Regions from separate parts of the Homo sapiens genome. Here regions 2, 3, 4, 5, 6 and 7 are each linked to region 1. The links are contacts of gene promoters, found by promoter capture Hi-C in blood cells and fetal thymus (Javierre and others, 2016). All regions are on one chromosome and are shown on one strand. Each heading gives the region's core, a stretch centred on a gene start or on the middle of the fragment in contact. The rest is flanking DNA. Distances are from core to core; before and after follow the strand shown.

Region 1 (2,700 bases), core at 24-2,523:
ATGATGTTTTCCCATTCCCCTGATCTCCAGTCCCCGATCGGAAGGGAGAGCCGGCGGCCACCAGGGACCCCGGCACTGGAGTGAACGCCCCCAAATCGATCGCTGGCCAGTGTGGCTTTGGGCTGTCTCGCTGGTGCCACCGAGGCCCTCTTTGGGCTCCAGCTCTCAGGACAGCCTTGCCGCCCCGAGCTCCCCAAAGCCGCAGAGCGCCGGCAGGTGCGCGGTGGAGGCGCGCCGCGGAGCGCTGCTGCCGCCCTCAGCCCGCATTCGGGAAGCCGGCGGGCTGCCGGCCGGGAAGCCCTCGGCGGGAGGCAGCGGCTCCAGTGAGCCTGCGATCGCGCGCACGCCGCGCTCCAGCCCGCGAAAGTGGCCGAGCCCACGCGGGGACTCGCCCGCCGCGGCCAAGCCGGGTCTTCTGGGGCCGGGACCCCAAAGAGGCGGGCGCGGGAGAAGCCGCCACGGGTGTGCGCGCCTGTGGGGAGAGGGCGGAGGGCGCTGCCGACTCCGAGCGCCCGGCCCAGCCGCCGCTTACCCAGCTCGGCGACGTCGGTCTGTCCTTCCGTCCCCGCTCGGTCTACCTCGGCCGCCGCCGGCTGCTGAGGGCGGCGCGAGGCCCCTCTCCCTGCCCGCAGCTCGGAATCAGGGAGACGACCAAATCCACATGGAGTCCAAATTCATTAAAATCCACGTCAAGCCACCAGACACTTATCTGTATTCCTGAAGTCGCTCCTCGGTCTCCGCTCCGCGCGCCCCTCAGTCCTCCGTCGCCCCGCAGCAGCCCGGCTGGGCGCTGTCGCCGGCTCTCAGGGGGCACCCGGAGGCGCCGAGGGGGCGTGTGGGGGCGGCCGGCGGTGTCTCTCCTGAGGAAGAAGCAGAGCCCCGGCTGTCTTCAGATTTTTCCAGCGCGACTTTCCGGGCTCCTCTGACATCAGCAATCCCGGCGCTTCCTTCCCTTCTTGCTCTCCGGTTCGTTCACAGTCCCATTTCCTCCGGGAGCCTGGCTTTCCAGATCTATTTCGAGGTTTGCTCCGCTGGCTGCGGCGCTCGCACGCCCTACCGCTCCCAAGCTCTCGGGGTCTCTCTCCGGATCGCTCGCCCTCTCGGCTGAAAAATTCCCAGCAACTGCCCTCCGCCGCCCTCCCGCTCCAGTCTGGCGCGGATGCCGCTCCTCCCGGCAGCTCTGGCTCCCGCGGTGGCGGCGGCGGCGGCGGCGGCGGCGGCGGCGGAGGAGCCCTGAGCGCCGGCCTCCCTATTTCACCATGCAGCTCATTATCATAGAGGCCGCGCGCGTTAACCCCCTCCCCGCCGGCCGCGTCCGCCCGGGCTGGGGCCGCGCCCGCTGCTGGCACCGCCCGCCACCGCCAGCACCCTGCCCCCTCCCCCGCCCGCGCGGACTTCCTCCTCCGCAAGCTGTCAACAAAGGAGAAGCAGGTTTGGCATCCGGAGGCCGCTCGGCTGCCTGTCCTGCGCCCAGCTCAGCCCGGACCCATCGGCCACCTTAAGTAGCCAAGGGGGCAAGGAAAATGCTGCCAGGGCCCGGGAATTCGAGTCGGGCCTTGCGAGCCCAGCTGGCTTGGCCCCCGGGGGAATAGAAGGTCTAGCGTTGGGGTTAGGGGGGAGCTCAGAACACAGGAAGAGTGGGTGAGGGCAGTAGGGACAGGGAATCCCCCCCATTCGCATCACCTGTCACCGCACACATCCTGCACACCTCCCTCTTCATCTGTAATTTGAGTGAGGGGTGAGTGGGGAGGAACGGGGCTTGTCTGGTAGGGTTGAGACTAGAGTCTTGGAATTTGTGGGAGCAAATTTCCTCTTCTTGTAAATTAAAAAAAGAAAAAGGCCAACAAGCTGTCAAATAAGGCTTGAAGTTGTTGTTATTATTATTATTGCAATGAGAAGATGAACCTTGCTCTGAATTGAATCTCAAACTTCCAGCCCTGATAGGGATCCTGGGCATCTGGTAAGTCCCGACTTGCATGGGGGCATTGGGGACGGGAGAAGAGCTTTCTATATCCAATTCAGAGAATCTTTCTGGCAGGGTAATCAGAGGGGTGGCAATAAGATAACTTATTTTAATAACCTAAGGTGAGAGGTTTCGGGATTCTGGATGACAATGTCTCGGTGCCCTCAAGGCCACTGATTCCTCGCCACACAGTCTCAGTAACTCCGCAGCCTCTAGACACGGCTTTCCGGAAGCGGCCTGCAAGCTGGACCCCAGCGAGTTCGCAGGATCTGCGTAGTCCCTGCTCGCGATTAGAGCGCACACGAGTTTACTCCTGTCCAAGTATTCTGATAAGCTTCCTCTACTGCCCTCTCGTGGCCACAGTCCTCAGTGGTATAAATCTAAAAAACAACAAAAATCACTGCGAATACCTAAAAGCAATTGCACCAAATTCTTAGAGCAGTAGCGGCAGAAGAAACGAAGGGAGGGAAGGATGAAGAAAGGGAGCCGGAGAAAAGAGAGAGAGAGAGGAAGAAGAAAAGGAAATCTAGACTAACCAGTCATCTCGAACAATCGCACATTCAACACAGGACTGGGGGATCTAGGCTTTACTCCAACATCTGCAGAAATCAGCGAATTCTTCAAAAGTTCTTCATTGTAATTAGCTGAAATTTGTGTTCCTGTAACTTTCACTGGCTACTGCTAGTTTTGTCCTGTGGGACCACAAAGAATCTGTCTAAGCTGTGTTGCCTGATCCA
Region 2 (2,700 bases), core at 179-2,678, 210 kb before region 1:
CCTGAGGGTGCTACTGACCTCTCCACCCAGCTCTTGTAGCTGGGGATGTCCTTGGCATAGAGCAGCTTGTTGGAGGGGGAGTCCTTGCCCAGCCGGTGCTCTGACGTTGAACAAGAGTCCATGAAGGTCTGGGCCACCACAGAGAGGCAGGCGTCCGTGATGCTGCCCTTGTGGATGTCAAACACGAACTGGGGGTTCTTAATCACGTTCACCCAGAAGCGCAGAGGGAGGCTGTGGGGAAAGGCAGAGAAGACTTGAGAATGCATGCGGGCCGTGCCCCTTCTGCTGCCCACTGATATTCTTCCCCATCAAAGGTCAAATTGTCCACCTGAAGGGGCAAAGGAGTAAAATGGAAGAAAATGGGTCCAGCCAGGGTTAATTTAGCCAAAGCTGTTACTGACCTGGGAGAAATGGAAGGAGAGGCACTTTGTACCCTAATGGGGGCACTGACCCTGATCTCTAACATCCGAGGGGTGGGCCTGGGTGTGTTCTGTTCCCTTCTGGGAGACTTTTCTAAAGGACTCTGTGCCCCTAGGCAAGCCCAAGAACAGAGGACAGCACATTTTCTCAGGGCTTCACACAAAGCCACCAGGCTCCTGGAGTCCCTTCACAGTGCCCGTGGCCATTGTCCGGAAGAAGGCAGCCAGGAGCCCCAGGCTCAGCCTCGGAGCAGGCACAAAGGGCGCCACCTGCGCTCCCCGCCCAGCCCGGCTGCCCAAGCTACTTCCCAGGGCTGGCCTGGCCTGGCTGGGCCGAGGAATGGGCTCCCCTGGGGGAAGTTCTTTCATGACTCTCCCCAGGGCGTTCTTGTATCTGGGCAGGGGCAGAGGGAGAAGTGGAGGCCATTGTTGGCATCCTGGGAATGACTCACTGTAGCTCAGAGATTTTCCCACCCCAAGAGGAACCGATCAGTAGTTAGGAGACTTCCTTCTGCAACTCGGGAATTTATAACCAGAGGAGAATGAGTTTTCTCTGCTCCTTAGACCATAAAGCAAATAAGCCCATTTACTCTCCTTCAAAATCAGAACAGCTGCTGCTTTTACTTCCTTTTCCAGCTTTGCCTTCTCTTCCAGCTGCCTTCTGGGCTTTAACTCTTTTGACTCCTCTGTGGAACCGGTCCTGTCACAGGCTTGTCCTCCAGCCTGAGATGATGTTCCCAGCTCCCCAGCTTCTTCTTCTCTCCCCTCCTTCATCTTCTCTTGACTCTCATGGGCCCCAAACTTTCCCAAATGTCTCAGTAGTGCCAGGTCTTGGGGAAGATCTGCTTTACCCAGCCTCAAGCCCTTCCACGATGATTTCTGCCTATCTTCCAAAACACAACAGGATCCCTCACTTTCCTCTAGCCTGGGAGAAGCTGCTGCAGCTGAGAGCTGACTCATCTCTTCTACCCTCCCCTTCTTCTGGCAGCCTTGGGTAGTTTCTGGTAATCTTTCCCTGGACATTTGCTATTGAGGTCTGGTTAAGGAAACTCTCTCCACACCACGATGCCAGGGTAGTCCATTTCTATTACTTGGATCTGGCCAGCACACAGAAGGCACAGAGATGCGGATAACCCTGGACTTTCTCTTGATTTCCCCTGAAGTGCCCTCTCCCAGCGCTGGGCCGGGGATGCTCCAAAGCAAAGGGGACAGGCATGTGCTGTCCAGGGAATGCAGATGGAAGGCCTGTCCTGGCAAAGTGGACTGTGGGCTCTTAACCCCAGGGCCACCCCAGCCTGTTCGTTTCACTCCACTGTGATCAAAGCTGCAGACTGAGGAAGGCTCAGCGACCACAAGACCCGGGAGGAGGAAGGAAGAGATGGGGCTGGGGTTGGCTTTTTCCAAAGTGTTTTGTTGGTTGCTAGGACTTTTGATTCCCAAATAACAGCCTGGGCCCATCTGTGTCGGCTCTGTTTTCTGAGGAGACCGCTAACTCCAGACAGCTGCGTGGGCTGCCTGCCCAACCCAAATGCCTGGACCTCCCCTCTCCCCTCTCTGTGCTCTTTCCCAAAGGAAGCCTTTTGATGCCAGCTCTTGGCCGGGTCCTGTCTGACCTGAAAGCCAGTCCTTAGCTTGGTCTGTGGTCCAGGTTCAAAACCCATGAGGATAAAGTCTCATACCAGGGGCCTGAGGGCTTCTCCCACTGCTGGTCTGGTTGCAGAGATGACTTTAGGGGAGAGAGTCATGCCTGCAGGGCATTCTGCCTGCTGCTTCCTGAAAGCTATGGCGCCAGGATAATCACTTGGCCTTAAGAGATCAAGTTTGCAATGAAATCCTCCCTGTCAGTGGGCTCAAGTCTATAGCAGGTGTGAACTCCCTCTCCGGTGCTGACCAACTTCACCGGGCGTCTCAGTTTAATTCAGGGATTCCCCATCTCAGGAAGTGCCTTAGAACTGCCCCACTCAGAATGCCCCACGATGTCTGGCTGTGAAGCTCTGCTGCAGGCTTCAAATGCAGCTCTTTGCATAGGTTCCCCCAGCTCCCTTCTCCTGAGAACCAGAGATCTCAGAGCCAGGGGAGGAGGCTCTTCTTGGGGTACTGGTCACAACCTGGAGGGGCAGAATTCAAGGGTGCATCCTATTGCTGTGCCTCAAGCCAGGCAGGCCCCACTTGGCACAGGCAGCTGGGGACCGTGTGGGCTCTGCAGAGCATATGTGCACTGTTTGTTCCAGGAGCTTTGGATCACCCAGCCCCAGCCGAGAATAGGCTATCCTCCCACCCT
Region 3 (2,700 bases), core at 47-2,546, 190 kb before region 1:
TGCCTTTCATATGCACGAACCAATCCAGACCCCACAGCTCAACTGCCCCTTTCCACACTATCCTCATGCCCTCATCATTCTGGGACCAGGCACCAAACATCTAGGGACAGCCCTGGGCCCCAGAGCCTGCTAAAATGACTCAAACTAGCTGATCCTAAACTTGCTTACCCTGCTATGCCTGTTCCTTCCTGCAGAAACCACATAAAGACTCTTGCCACGGTTTCTCCCTCCGCCTCCAGGCAGACCAACCCTGGTGCTTCCCCCTGTGACCCCTGGGGCATGGACTTCCCTCTTCTCTTGGGATTTGATCTATGAGTAGAACAAGTTATACTCTGGCCTTGCCATACCTGAATAACAATAAAACCTATATTTTAAAACATGTACCTAATTTGCTTGCTTTTTTTTTTTTTTTAAATCCTTCCTGGGTGTGAACTTACCATTCTTGTTCCCATACCTCACCCTAGACTCTGGAGTTACCTGGGAGTTTCTGGGGACCCTGAGCTTCAGTCTGGAAATGGAGTGGGGGCCTAGGCTCTTTTACCCATGGATCAAGTTCTACACCTGGCAGAAGGAGGCATGCGCTCACCTAGCCCAAAAAGGAGTGACCATGGTGGATACTGAAGGTGTGGTACAAGTGCTCCCCAACATCTCCAGCAGGATGGTAATGTCAAGCCCACCAGCATTTCATGTGGCCTAGTTACGAAGAGTCTGGATGTTTGGGATCCACCTTGGCCCTTCCACCAGTCACCTGTATGATTGGGGGCAAGTCATTTAACCTTTCTGGACTTAGTTTCCTCTGCTACACAATGAAGGGGTTGCATCAGATGATCCCTGAGACCTTTCTATATCTAACCTTCTAACACTCTGTCATTTTGTGTATCTCTGTGTTTCTTATGGAAGCCTCAAGTACCCTGGAAATGTGTCAGGGGTAAGAGGGGAGACATAACACCATCTTCTCCATCTCCATCTTAGTCTAGTCAAGCCCCTGAAGGTCAAAGCAGTAATGATAGTAATTTCTATGAAAAATAATGGCCATAGTAGCATCTGCTATAATATAATTACAAATACAATCATGTTTCAAAAAATATTGGCTGAAAGAGTGAGATGGAGCCTAGAAAAATGATAAAAAATTGACAACATATCAGACATTCTATCCCTACGATACAGACAACTTTTTAAAAATTATAAAAATTACATGGCTATGCATGGAAGACTAATATAAAATGTCCAAACTTATCATCTTAGCAACCTAGGTGGAGTTATCTGATGCAGTGACTAGCATTTATCAACTGCCAACCTTATGCCAGCCACGGGCTGGCAGGTTATGAAGCTGAGGCAGGTCTGCTTGTCACCATTCATAGCTGAGAGGTGGAGGATCCGGAGGTTAAATGACTTGACCATGCTTGTACAGCTAATAGATGGCAGAACCCTGCTTCCTCTCCAGACATGTCTGAATCTGGAGCCAGAATTTCTCCAACCACTTCCAATATGGGTTTTCACTGGACCTCAAAGTCAACCTGTCATAAAACAGGAGTCCTTTTGTGCTGTATCATAAACTCAGAAGCCAGTACTTTGATACACTCACTATATCACCTTCTGACAAGAAATTGTACTGTCATTATAATATAAAAATCATTGTAGGGCTGAATATGGTGGCCCATGCCTATAATCCCAGCACTTTGGGAGGCCAAGGCGGGAGGATCACTTGAGCCCAGGAGTTTGAGACCAGCCTGGGCAAAAGAGAGAGACCTCATCTCTAAAATAATAATAATAATAAACTAGCCAAGCATGCGCCTGTGGTCCTAGCTACTCAGGAGGTTGAGGCGGGAGGATCTCTTGAGCCCGGGAGGTCAAGGCTGCAGTGAGCTGTGGTTGCACCACTGCACTCCAGCCTAGGTGACAGGGTGAGGCCATGTCTTAAAAAAAAAAAAATTATAAGGTTTAGGTATTTGGACCATGATTCCAGGCTCAGAGTCTTAAGCCAGTTTTCCTCTCCAGTATTCAGAGGCTCCAGTGCCTAACCCAGAGCTCATCCCATTGCAAAACATCAACACAGAGCTGTGTTTACCAAAGGCTGGGGCAGACCAACAGTTACTCACATTGACAGATTCTTTGCCATTGAATTTGACTCGGATCCTTGGCTCCTGAATGACATCCAGGTTGAAGCCTGTGATGGTCAGGGGTGTGTGGCCACTGAAAACAGGCAGAGGCTCGGTTAGGTAAAAAACCCCCTCAAATCTGGCATGGTGAACCTCCACCTTAGGGATCCCTCTCATGAGCCAGACTTGGGCTGCAGGGATCATGCTGGGTGGCTTCCAGGTGCATCCCTCCCACCTTCCACCTCACCTGGCAATGCTCCACTCTGGCTCGATGCGCTGGACCCGAGGGTCATCTATGTACTCAAACTGCAGGTTGCTATCCACATGGGCTCGGTCGACACTCACAGAAACAGGGACCGGGCCAAGGCCATTGGATGATGGGGGTGAGACACACACGATCTCACTCATTGACCTCCTGACAGGGAGACAGCAGGAGGGTTGAGAAGAAAGGCATGGGCAACAAGAGGTGCCCACTGGCTTGACAAGGGGCTTTCCTTGGTCTGCGGGTAAGGCCACAGAAGTGTTCTCTCATCCTTTTATATTCTACAACAATGGAACACATCCCGCATCAGTATAGATCAGTGCCCCAGTGGATTAGGGA
Region 4 (2,700 bases), core at 23-2,522, 230 kb before region 1:
TGTGGCATGGGTACCAACCTCTACGGAGCATCTACTGTGGCCTGACTGTTTACAAACATCAAACCACTCTGTGAAACAGGCTTATTTCATCCACTGCATAGAAGAAGAAACTTGTGCATCCATGCATTCAATATTTGCTGAATCCTATATCATAAGATAGGCCTCGGAGACACAGTGGTGGACAGGACAGAACCTGCCCTTCTGGAGCCTACGTTCCTGCTCAATGCAGAGATAGTCCCAAGGTCACTGATCCACATTCATGCTTGGCCGGGCTTAGATAGGAAACCAGGCAGGTTCTACCAATGCCAAAGTCTGGGGAATTGCTTTTCCTTTTCTTGAATGCTAGGTTTTGGGGTCTTGTGGCCTCCTACAAAGCCCACACTGTGAGTCACCATCCACCTTCTTTGCTGGGCAACCTCAGAGGAGGAAAAGACGTCACTAATTTAGTTTAGGACCTGGGAGGTGGAGTGGAGTTTCCCTGAGATAAGGGAATGGGAGAGGACCTTCTGCTATTCTATGAAAGTAATTGTGGCTGATGAGGAGTTTTGGAGTACAGTATTTTTTTTATTACAATTGTCATTACACTTGTAGATATTTGGGAGGGTGATTGGGAAACAGAATAAAGTAACAAGTAAAATTCTCACATAATCCTACTCCCCTATTTAGACCACACTGTAACATGCTGTGAACAGTTTTCCAAATCATTAAAAATTCTCTGTGGACATAATTTTAAATCAGAATATAATATTTCATCTTGTGGACATACTATAATTTATTTAACTCTCCCATATTGGCAGTATTTAATTTGTTTCTACTTATTATTTTAAATAAAAGACATGTACATATATGTTTGTCCTTGTTTTTACCTGCTCAGAATGGAAGTGAAATTATTACCACAAAGAGAATGAATATTTTAAAGGCCCTTGAGACTTACTGCCATCTTGTGTTCTAGAAATATTGTACAAATTTCTAATAGTGTGAGAGGGCCCAGCATTGTAGTACACCTTCCTTCATCAATAATCCACATTGACTTTTACAAGTATTTGCTAATTTAATAGGGCAAAAATTGTATTTCATTATTGTGTTTTTTTCACATATATTGATTGCTAGTGAGCTTCAACATTTCTTTGTGTGTCTAAATAATCATTAGCATTTCTTCTGCAAATAGTCTATTCTCATCCTTTGCACATTTTTCTTTTGGGTTTAGTGGGGCTTTTTATGTGTATAAGTGCTATTTTGTATTTTAAGAACATTAACTTTTTGATGTTTTTGTTGAAGACATTTTTTCTCAGGTTGATTTTGCTGTTTACTTTATTTTCTATGATGTTTTTTATAGATATGGTTTGAATTTATATGCAGCCAAATATATCTATTCTTTCTTTGTGATTCCTCCAATTGCTTTTATACTTAGAAATTCCATCTCCACACTGAGATAAACATACTAATATTTTATTCTAAGTATTTTATGATTTTTTTTTGAGGTCGGGGGACAGAGTCTTGCTCTGCCGCCCAGGCTAGAGTACAGTGGGGCAGTCCCGTCTCACTGCAGCCTTGACCCCCTGAGCTCCAGTGATCTTCCCACCTCAGCCTCTGGAGTAGCTGGGACTACAGGCCCACACCACCACTCCTGGTTAAGAAGGTTTAGAATTGTTTTTTCTTTTATTTTTGTAGAGGTGATATCTCCCTATGTTGCCCAGGCTGGTCTCAAATTCCTGGGCTCAAGTGATTCTCCTCCCTAGGCCTCCCAAAGTGCTGGGATTACAGGTGTGAGCAACCCCACTGCCCAGTCAGGTTTGATTTTTTCACATTTAATTTTTTAGTTTATTTGGGATTTATTTTGTTCTGTGTTGCATCATGGTAAGGATTTAGACTGATATTTCCCCAAATAGTTAAACATTTATCCCTGAATCACTTATTAAGGAATGCTTTTGGCTGGGCGTGGTGGCTTACGCCTGTAATCCCAATACTTTGGGAGGCCAAGGTGGGTGCAAGGCTTGAGCTCAGGAAATTGAGACCAGCCTGGGCAACATGGTGAAACCCCATCTCTACAAAAAATACAGACATTAGCTGGGCGTGGTGGTGTGCATCCTGTAGTTCTAGCTACGTGGGAGGCTGAGGAGGGAGGATCCCTTGAGCTTGAGAGGCAGAGGTTGCAGTGAGCTGAGATCGTGCCACTGCACTCCAGCCTGGGTGACAGAGTGAGACCCTGTTTAAGAAAAAAAAAAACAAGGCTTCCTTTCCCCATTGGCTTAGATGCTGCCTTTGGCTTACGCTAAATTTTTAAACATATATATACAGTAGACTGTTCTGAGCTGTCTTATTCTGTTCAGTTGGTTCTTCTATTACAATCACACTGTTTTAATTACTGTATCTTTATTCATTCACACATTTAAAAATACAACATATTTGTGTATGAAATATAGCATTTTAATATCTGGCAGAAAAATCTCCCATAGTTACTCTGTTTTTTAGGAGGAAAAAAGACTACTTCTGTTCATGTATTTTCCAGATAAATTTTAGAGTCATGCTGTCTAGAAAAAAAAAATCTCATTTGGGATTTTGTAAAGGATTAAATTAAATATATATCTTAATTCATGAAGCATTTGCATCTTTATACTATTCAGTCCTACCGTTCGGGAAAATGACATGCTACTTTCTTTTCCCCCTTATGTTGTTTTTGCAGCTTTAACTCTTTGATCT
Region 5 (2,700 bases), core at 121-2,620, 130 kb before region 1:
GACCAGACTCTACCTCTCTGCCTAAACTGTTGTATGACTCTGAGTAGGTAAGAAGCCACAGGAACCTCATGCTGTAAAACAGAATTTTGGTTTTCAGCAAACACCATGGAATGCATCTTCTCCACTATCTCGCAGCTTTCCTTTCTAACCATCCAAAACTTGGGCATCTTGTCCTCTCTGACACATCAGACCCCCCGATAGTATTCTCTCTGACTTTTCTTGGTATGCTGAGTGACTGGTTCCCTTGGGCAGAACTATAGAGAATTGTCTTGTCCATCACAGCTTCCTAGAAGGCAGTGAGTGAGTAGATGAGTGTGTGTGTATGTGTGTGAAAGAGAGAGAGAGCGAGAGAGGGAAGGAAGGATAGAGGGAGCGGGAGGGAGATGGAGGATAAGAATATGTATTAAATCTCTGCCTAAGGGGAAACAAGAGTCTCCTATACTTACATTGGAACATTTTAATTTCCTTTTGGTATAGAGCTCATTTATTCATTCCTGCCATTCATTCATTCAACTCTGGCAAGGTGGTGATATGAGGCAGGAAAGCTCCTAGGCTTTGCTGGATCCAGTGCCTCTGTGTTGGTTTGGGAACCTTTATAGACTGGTCAGTTGGATCAAGACCATTCCATGGAGGCAGCAATGACCACATGGCCTCAGTGCTTTGTACCCAGGGGTTAGTCAGTGTGGGTTGATTGGCGTGACCTTGTGAATCTGCATTCTGATATATTTGATTTATCACCAAGTCAACCTGAATGTGGTAGAAATACACCGGGCACATATACTTTGTGCATTTGCTTGTTTATTCATTCATTTACTCAATCATTAGTCTATCCGCTGAGTTCATCCATTCATCCATCCATTCATCCACCAGACTGCTATATATATAAGTTGTATAAAAGTTATCTGCAGCTGAAGAAGAAACTGAGGAACAGAGAGTCTCAGTGAAGTTGTTTAAAGTCATGTATTCAGTAAGTTATACAGCTGGGACTCGCACTCAGGCAGGCTGGCTACAGAGCCCATGTTCTCAACTTTTACACCATACCGCCTCTTAGACATGAAGGATGGCATGGGTTAGAAAATGCTAAGCCCTGTACCTTGCTGATAGCTGATAGTTATTATTAATAAATATGTATTAAACACCTACAATACAGTCTGTGTAGACATTAAGTTCACAGAATGCACAGATACAACCTTGATCCCAAAGTACTCATAGTGTTGTCAGGAAGACAGACACACCTCCCAAACTATAATGAAATATTAGCAATATGATTGAGACATGGTAAAAGCTATAGGAGCAAAAGGGAAGTACAAATCAGGGAAGGCTTTCAAGAGTCAGTGTTTTGTACCAATAATACAAAACACAGTTTCTTTCAGCTAAAGAAACACAACAATAAAAATAAAATATAAAACAACAAGAAAACTCTGCCTATCTCAGGAAGTTTATAGTCCAAACACCTCAGTGTGACATTTCAGACTTCTAAATTCTGCTCCTCACCCAGGCTGACGTTTCCACTCCTGACCCCTTTGGTCAATGTCAACTGCACTCCTGCCAGGCTGGCCTCCTCTCTTGCTTTGTGTAGTCCTGCCTCCATGCCTTTGCTCATACATTCCTGCTAATCCAAACATCCTCCCCTCTCCCGCTCATGTGCAAATCCCTGGGCCCTCCCTCCTCCAGGAAGTCTTCCTTGATCAACCTTTGTTACTTCTCTCTCTGAACTGAGAATCTGACTGCCTGCCCAATTGGCATGAGTCTAATGCACTTTTTATACTCTTCTTAGGTAGGTAACTTTTTAGATTACTTATAGGGCTCTTCTTTTTATTTCTTCTTATGAGACATCTCTGTATGCTCCCACTTCAGTTTCTTGTACGAAATAGGTCTATAAATACCTGCTGAGAAGCTAATTATACTTGCCCAATGATCCAGGTTTTATTTTAAGCTCTTTAATCAAATGCACTATGCTAAAGTTCTCTAGGTGTGGCTGAGGCCCCCTGGTATTCTGCGAGTATCCATTCGGTGACTTGAGGGCTTTTAAAATTTTTTAATAGTCAATGTTTACAACACAGCAGAGGCTTTTGGTGTCACGGAAAGGACATAGCTGTTAGGGTCAGAAGAACGTAGCTCAGCCTCACCACATACTCAACTGTACCGGGCAAGTCCCTTAACCTCCCTGGGCCTCAGTTTTCACATTTGTTAAATATTATTGGATGTTAAAATTAAGGCATCCACGAAGGCACCATGATACAATAATGCTGTGTTCTAAGGTAAAGTGCAGACTGCCATACAATTTTTCAGAGTAGATTCTCAAGATTCAGGTTCATGATTCTTCTGCCCCTGACCCTGGATCCCCTGACCCAGATGAATGGAATGAAAGGATTAAAGGGGCCAGGCAAGGTGCTTATGCCTGTAATCCCAGAACTTTGGGAGGCCAAGCTGGGCAGGATCATTTGAGTTCAGGAGTTTGAGACCAGCCTGGCCAACATGGTGAAACCCCGTGTCTACAAAAATACAAAAATTAGCCGGGTGTGGTGGTGCATGCCTGTGGTCCCAGCTACTCAGGAGGCTGAGGCAGGAGAATAGCTTGAACCTGGGAGGTGGAGGTTGCAGTGAGCCGGGATCACACCACTGCACTCCAGCCTGGATGACAGAGCAAGACTCTGTCTCACATAAAAAAAAGAGTTGAAGGAATGAAAAAGAAGAGAC
Region 6 (2,700 bases), core at 198-2,697, 250 kb before region 1:
CAGGTGTGAAATATTAATTGCCTCACTGGGGACTGGGCTCTTTCTGTCTGTCGTGTCTGACCAGAATATCATTCTCTCCTGCAAATATAATTATGGGGTAGGGGAGGCGGGCTGAGTGTACGGGGGTGGGGGGTGGGCTGCCACATGGGGAGGTGGGAGCGCATGTGGGAGGGGTGATGAGAAGGGACTACAGCTTTTTTTCTTAATCGCCTCTCGACTGTCTGTTAATTAGGAGCCGTGCTTTGCTACATGCTGTGATATTTTGGTTAATTATAAAGAGAAAAGGACAAATTTGTCACGTCTTTTGTTTTCGTTCCACCACGTCTCCTGGTGACAGCGGTGTGAAGGCTGATGGACTGCTCAGGCAGCAGCACCAGATGCTCACACACACCCTCTGCCAGGGGCAGGCAGGGAGGGGTCCTCAGGGCTAGGAGGCAGCCAGGGGGCCACCAGGCAGGCTGGTGCACATGGGGCTGGTCTGGACTGGGTTCACAAGGGGTCAAATGGAGAGATTCACATTCTTGAATGTGAACGTGAAGTGGATGCCAGGAAGGAGTCCCCAGTCCCACTGAAGGAGAGGAAGGGGGAGATGTTCATTCCTCCGTTGTCCAGTTGGGTGATTGGCCTGACACCAATGCCCCAGGGATCAAGGCTGAACTTGCCGATAGCAATCAGAGCAGACAGGCAGGCTGTGACCCCTCCTAGGATCTTGAGGCAGTGGGGGGCATGTTCACCTTGCAGAGTGGGGCTGAGTAAAATATAGCATAGTATTCTATGAGCCTGTCACAAACGGGCCACCCAGGGATGTGAAAGGATGTGCTAGTTCTCCCTGCTACCATTTATTAGCTAAAGCCTATTTCAGGCTCCAGCTTATACATTATACCCCATCCCCCAACACACACACACACACGTACTGGGTTAGGAGTCACCTTCTCTGGGCTCTGAGGCTTACTAAGCTTCTATCATGTGATGGTTAATTGTATGTGTTAACTTGGCTAGGCTACGATACCCAGTTGTTTAGTCAAATACAAGTCTAGATACTGTTCTGAAGATTATTTTTATTTTTACTTTTATTTTTTGAGGCAGAGTTTTGCTCTATTGCCTAGGCTGGAGTGCAATGGTGTGATCTCGGCTCATGGCAACCTCCGCCTCCCGGGTTGAAGCAATTCTCCTGCCTTAGCCTCCCAAGTAGCTGGGATTACAGGTGCATGCCACCATACCCAGCTAATTTTTGTATATTTAGTAGAGATGGGGTTTCATCACATTGGCCAGGCTGGTCTCGAACTCCTGACCTCAAGCGATCCACCTGCCTCAGCCTCTGAAAGTTTTGGGATTATAGGCGTGAGCCACCACACCCGGCCTGTGAAGATTATTTTTAGATTGACAACCAATACACTGAATAAAGCAGATTACCCTCCATAATGTGGGTGGGCCTCATCCACTGAAGGTCTTAAGAGCAAAGACTGAGGTTTCCTGAAGAAGGAATTCTGGATCAATACTGAAACATAGAAATCGTACCTGAGTTTCTGACTGCTGGCCTGACCTACAGATTTGAGACTTGTCAGCCCTGACAATTGCATGGACCAGTTCCTTAAGATCTATCTATCTGTATTTGTTCTGTTTTTCTGATGAACCCCGATGGATACATATCCCATTGCATCTGGTTGTGGACTTTCCTGCTTTCCTGACCATCTCCTTCACTAGAATGTGAGGACAGAAACTAAACTGGGTCCTGTGTACCACGGCATCCCCTGGGCCTCGTGTAGGCCCTGCTTGTAATAGACCTTAATATGTATTTGTTGCACATTGAATGAATTCATTTGGGAAACAAGAAAGACGTACATCCCCGCACCAATCAAATAACCATCCAAGGCAGTACAGGCAGTTCCTGACTTATAAATAGGTTTAGTTCCAAAAATTCATTTGAGTTAGTTGTCTGAAGCTTTTTCCCATAACAACAAGGATATCAGTGCTGGCAAGCCTCCTGGGCTGGCTGCCAGAAACCTATTTAACCCATAGTATAGATTAAACACTGTGCATTTGCCATGAAAAATAGTAGAAAACAATATTCTTGCAAGGCTAGTAATTAGAAGAGAAGTATGATAGTATTGAATAAAAATAGGTAAAATTTTTCATTTAGAATATTGGAGTTTTGAAGAAAAATGGTTACAAAAGGATGAGCAAGTAGAGAGAGACTAATGGAAAATCGGAATGGAATTTCTGAGTATTTTCCAGGGTTTTAGAAGTCGATGGGACTGATTCTCTATTTGATCTAAGTTCTGCTCAGAACTCATGGCTGCTCCTCCCGCTCCCCTTTTGCTATAGAAGGAGGCCAGCTCTTATTGGTCTCAGGTAAGGGTGTTAGTTTGTTCACACATGTAACAAAAATAATAAAGAAATGGTGGGCTGTTTGGACAGGAGAGAGAGGGGGGAGAAAACCAGCACGGACAAGGATGTATATTTATGTGGGAATGAGATTGTCCAGGGTGAAATTAACTGAGCCATGAGGGGTGATTGCTGAGAAGGAGTGTGGGACAGAGGTCTGGAAGCCCAGGCTCTGAAGGGAGCTTAGGGAATGTGGAGGAGACGCTGAGTTAGACAGATTTCCACATTGGTCACCAGGAGGCACTGTTGCTCTGTTTTAGCCCAGGGCTGGGGGTGAGCAACATTTGAGGGGTTGGTGGGGCAAGCAGCATGCAG
Region 7 (2,700 bases), core at 108-2,607, 170 kb before region 1:
TGGTGGAGGAAGTCGGCCTTCTGCTCTGCCACTAACCAGATGTGTGTGTGACACTGGGCTAATTCTTTACTTCTCTAAGAACTGTTTCCCCAACTCTTAAGTGAAGATAATAATAGCCAACTTGCAGGGTTGTTTGAAGGAGTAGGCTCAGAGCCTGGCACATGGGAGAGTCTTATTAAAGAGAAGCAATTATCATGAAGACTCCCAGAATTAGAATGTTGGCTGGTCTGCTCATGTCCCTTGCCTGAGGTCCTGAGGTTAGTGTCCTCATTAACAGAAGACCTGTATCCCTGCTTCAGTCCTTCTACACAGGACACAACTGCAGAGGGTGGAGATTAGAAGTCTGCCCTAGGCCTTTTGGAGGAAGCACAATGGCCTGCAGGGCAGTCAGTTTCCAGCCTCTTCCAGGTGGCCAATGTTCAAGCATAGGCTGGGGCTACATTGGAAGAGGCTGCATAACCTAGCCTCCTTAACCAGGAGTCACATATACATGTGACAGACAACTTCCAAGCCCAGCATAGTTCATGGCATACAGTAGTCATTAATTAAATATTCATTTAATGAGTGAATTAACATATTTGGAATGGTGGCATCTCCCCCCTCTGATCAGAATGCTCACTCTTATGGTTTGACTCTTGTCTCCTCAAAATTCATATGGTGAAGACCTAATTCAGTGCCTTAGAATGGCACCTTCTTTGGATATAGGGTCTTTAAAGAGGTAATCGTATTAAAATGAGATAATTAGAGTGGGCACTAATCCAATATGACAGGGTCTTTATTTAAAAAAAAAAAATAGGGAGACAGACACACACACAGAGATAGAATGCCATGTGGACATGAAGGCAGAGGTCAGGTTGATGCTTCTACAAGCCAAGGAACAGCAAAGATTCCCAGCAACCACCAGAAGCCAGGAAAGAGACCTGGAACAGATTCCCCCTCACAGCGCTCAGAAGGAACCCACGCTGCTGACACCTTGATCTTGAAGTTCAGACCTCCAAATATATTCAGGTTGTTTAAGCCACCTGTTTGTGGTTCTTTGCTAGGGCAGCCCTAGGAAACTGATACACTCGCTTGGAGTGAAGAAGACCTCTGTTATGTGAGCTCCAAAATCCCTTTACCCTCCCTGAGTTTATCTTCCTGAGAAAATATTCAGTCTCTTCCTTTTCTGCTGGATCCTGCCTACTCATGGCCCCTTAAGAAATGTTTTTCTCTGGGCCTTCCTTTCCAGTCTGTGGCTCCTAACACCCTCCTCTTTGAGGTCCCAGCAGGTCCTGAAGCATAGGCTGGGGGAACGGAAACGTGGCGGGCCAGCCATCTCATGGGCTTTCCAATCCTCTGCACGTCTCCTGTTCCTAGGGTTGAACAGGTGACACGTGCACAGACACCCACGATGACAGCTGGAAATGGGAGCAGCTCAGGAGGCCTCCCATGGGGGACAGCATCATTATCACACCACGAGCTGGCTGAGGAGCAGAAGGTAAGTCCTGAGGGGGTCCTAACCTGAAGTTTATGCAAACTGTGAAATTCAATAGCCTGTACAACTTGTTCTACATGAAGCTGCCATAAAAGATGGGTCCCTCGGGTGGGCCTGGTTGCCATGGAGAAGATGGGGTAAGGAGGGGTTAAGGAATAACACAGCTGTTTATCTAACTATGCGTGAGCCCACTTCTTTTTCTAACGTAGAACTCCTTTGAGATCATCTCATTTATTTCTCTGCTGTCCCAGGAAGGACAGCATCCATTCCAGCTTCCACTTATTTCCAGGACTGGAGATTCTGCCACCCCCAACTGCCATCACAGGCCATCTTAGAATCCTTCTCTTTTCATCCTTCAAGAAGGATCTTTGTAGTAAATGGCTTCTATTTACTGCACAGAGTGGCTGCACTAAGGAGGACACCCATTCTGAAGATGAAGGCTGGGGACAAGGAGGTCTGCATCAAAGGGTATGGGCCTCATGGAAGTCCGATGATTCAGAGGTTTGGGGAAAACATCTATGCCAGTGCAAAGGGATTAGCCAAGAAAGCTGAAGTAAAGAAAATGAGTTGGCCGGGCATGGTGGCTCATGCCTATAAATCCAGCACTTTGGGAAGTTGAGGTGGGCGGATCACCTGAGGTCAGGAGTTTGAGACAAGCCTGGCCAACATAGTGAAACCCTGTCTCCAGCAAAAATACAAAAATTAGCTGGGCGTGGTGGCACGTGCCTGTAGTACCAGCTACTCGGAAGGCTGAGGCAGGAGAATCCCTTGAACCCGGAGGCGGGGGTTGTAGTGAGCCAAGATCACACCACTGCACTTCAGCCTGGGCGATAGAGTGAGACTCTGTCTCAAAAAAAAAAAAATAATAAGAAAAGAAAATCTCCTTAAAGGTTGCTTTTAGCAAATTACATATTCTTGCCAAAAACACCATAGAAATGAGGTTGTGTCCTTCTCAGAGCATTCTATTGAAAGGTACATGAGGTTGATTTTTCCCATTACTGGCTTTGTTTACTTTCATCAATTGGTTTAGGTGAGGTCTACCACGTTTCTTCACTGCCCAGTCACTATTGTTCTTGTCATAATTAACAAGTATCTTATGGGAAGGTAGCTTAAGGTTATGTAAATATCCTATTTCTCATCATACTTTCATCTACTAATTTTAGTGTTCATTGACCATTCTTTGCCTGAAACAATTATTACTTGTGTACTGTGCCAAATGGTGATTT

What was found. Contacts are between HindIII fragments. The CHiCAGO score rates a contact against its expected background, and 5 or more counts as called.
Region 2: a contact is called between a fragment that was not itself captured here and the fragment with the promoter of PLXNA2 in region 1, in 16 of 17 cell types (fetal thymus, naive CD4 T cells, naive CD8 T cells and 13 more). The highest score is 21.8, in fetal thymus.
Region 3: a contact is called between a fragment that was not itself captured here and the fragment with the promoter of PLXNA2 in region 1, in 9 of 17 cell types (fetal thymus, megakaryocytes, M2 macrophages and 6 more). The highest score is 12.2, in fetal thymus.
Region 4: a contact is called between a fragment that was not itself captured here and the fragment with the promoter of PLXNA2 in region 1, in 15 of 17 cell types (fetal thymus, naive CD8 T cells, M1 macrophages and 12 more). The highest score is 13.7, in fetal thymus.
Region 5: a fragment that was not itself captured here is called in contact with the fragment with the promoter of PLXNA2 in region 1 in 3 of 17 cell types (erythroblasts, M0 macrophages and M2 macrophages); the score reaches 6.5 in erythroblasts.
Region 6: a fragment that was not itself captured here is called in contact with the fragment with the promoter of PLXNA2 in region 1 in 13 of 17 cell types (fetal thymus, total B cells, naive B cells and 10 more); the score reaches 16.8 in fetal thymus.
Region 7: a contact is called between a fragment that was not itself captured here and the fragment with the promoter of PLXNA2 in region 1, in 1 of 17 cell types (fetal thymus). The highest score is 6.2, in fetal thymus.

The regions. Positions count from the first base shown.
Region 1 is chr1:208,243,111-208,245,810 of GRCh38, forward strand. It overlaps PLXNA2 (plexin A2), which reads right to left and starts at 1,274. Exons shown (of 32, transcript NM_025179.4): 1 at 533-1,274. RefSeq lists enhancers at 1-313, 314-813 and a silencer at 1,332-1,391. The HindIII fragment of the contact is 7,265 bases long and covers 1-2,295 here.
Region 2 is chr1:208,028,812-208,031,511 of GRCh38, forward strand. PLXNA2 (plexin A2) reads right to left here. Exons shown (of 32, transcript NM_025179.4): 30 at 19-231. Among named protein-coding and RNA genes, the nearest start is that of LINC02767, 71 kb to the left of the region's middle. The HindIII fragment of the contact is 5,248 bases long and covers 1-2,700 here.
Region 3 is chr1:208,048,910-208,051,609 of GRCh38, forward strand. PLXNA2 (plexin A2) reads right to left here. Exons shown (of 32, transcript NM_025179.4): 16 at 2,347-2,514; 17 at 2,100-2,193. Among named protein-coding and RNA genes, the nearest start is that of LINC02767, 91 kb to the left of the region's middle. The HindIII fragment of the contact is 5,744 bases long and covers 1-2,700 here.
Region 4 is chr1:208,010,443-208,013,142 of GRCh38, forward strand. No RefSeq gene overlaps it. Among named protein-coding and RNA genes, the nearest start is that of LINC02767, 53 kb to the left of the region's middle. The HindIII fragment of the contact is 3,525 bases long and covers 1-2,700 here.
Region 5 is chr1:208,114,510-208,117,209 of GRCh38, forward strand. The region is part of intron 4 of PLXNA2 (plexin A2); the gene reads right to left. Among named protein-coding and RNA genes, the nearest start is that of PLXNA2, 130 kb to the right of the region's middle. The HindIII fragment of the contact is 8,996 bases long and covers 1-2,700 here.
Region 6 is chr1:207,991,059-207,993,758 of GRCh38, forward strand. No RefSeq gene overlaps it. Among named protein-coding and RNA genes, the nearest start is that of LINC02767, 33 kb to the left of the region's middle. The HindIII fragment of the contact is 986 bases long and covers 955-1,940 here.
Region 7 is chr1:208,072,986-208,075,685 of GRCh38, forward strand. The region is part of intron 12 of PLXNA2 (plexin A2); the gene reads right to left. Among named protein-coding and RNA genes, the nearest start is that of LINC02767, 120 kb to the left of the region's middle. The HindIII fragment of the contact is 6,171 bases long and covers 1-2,700 here.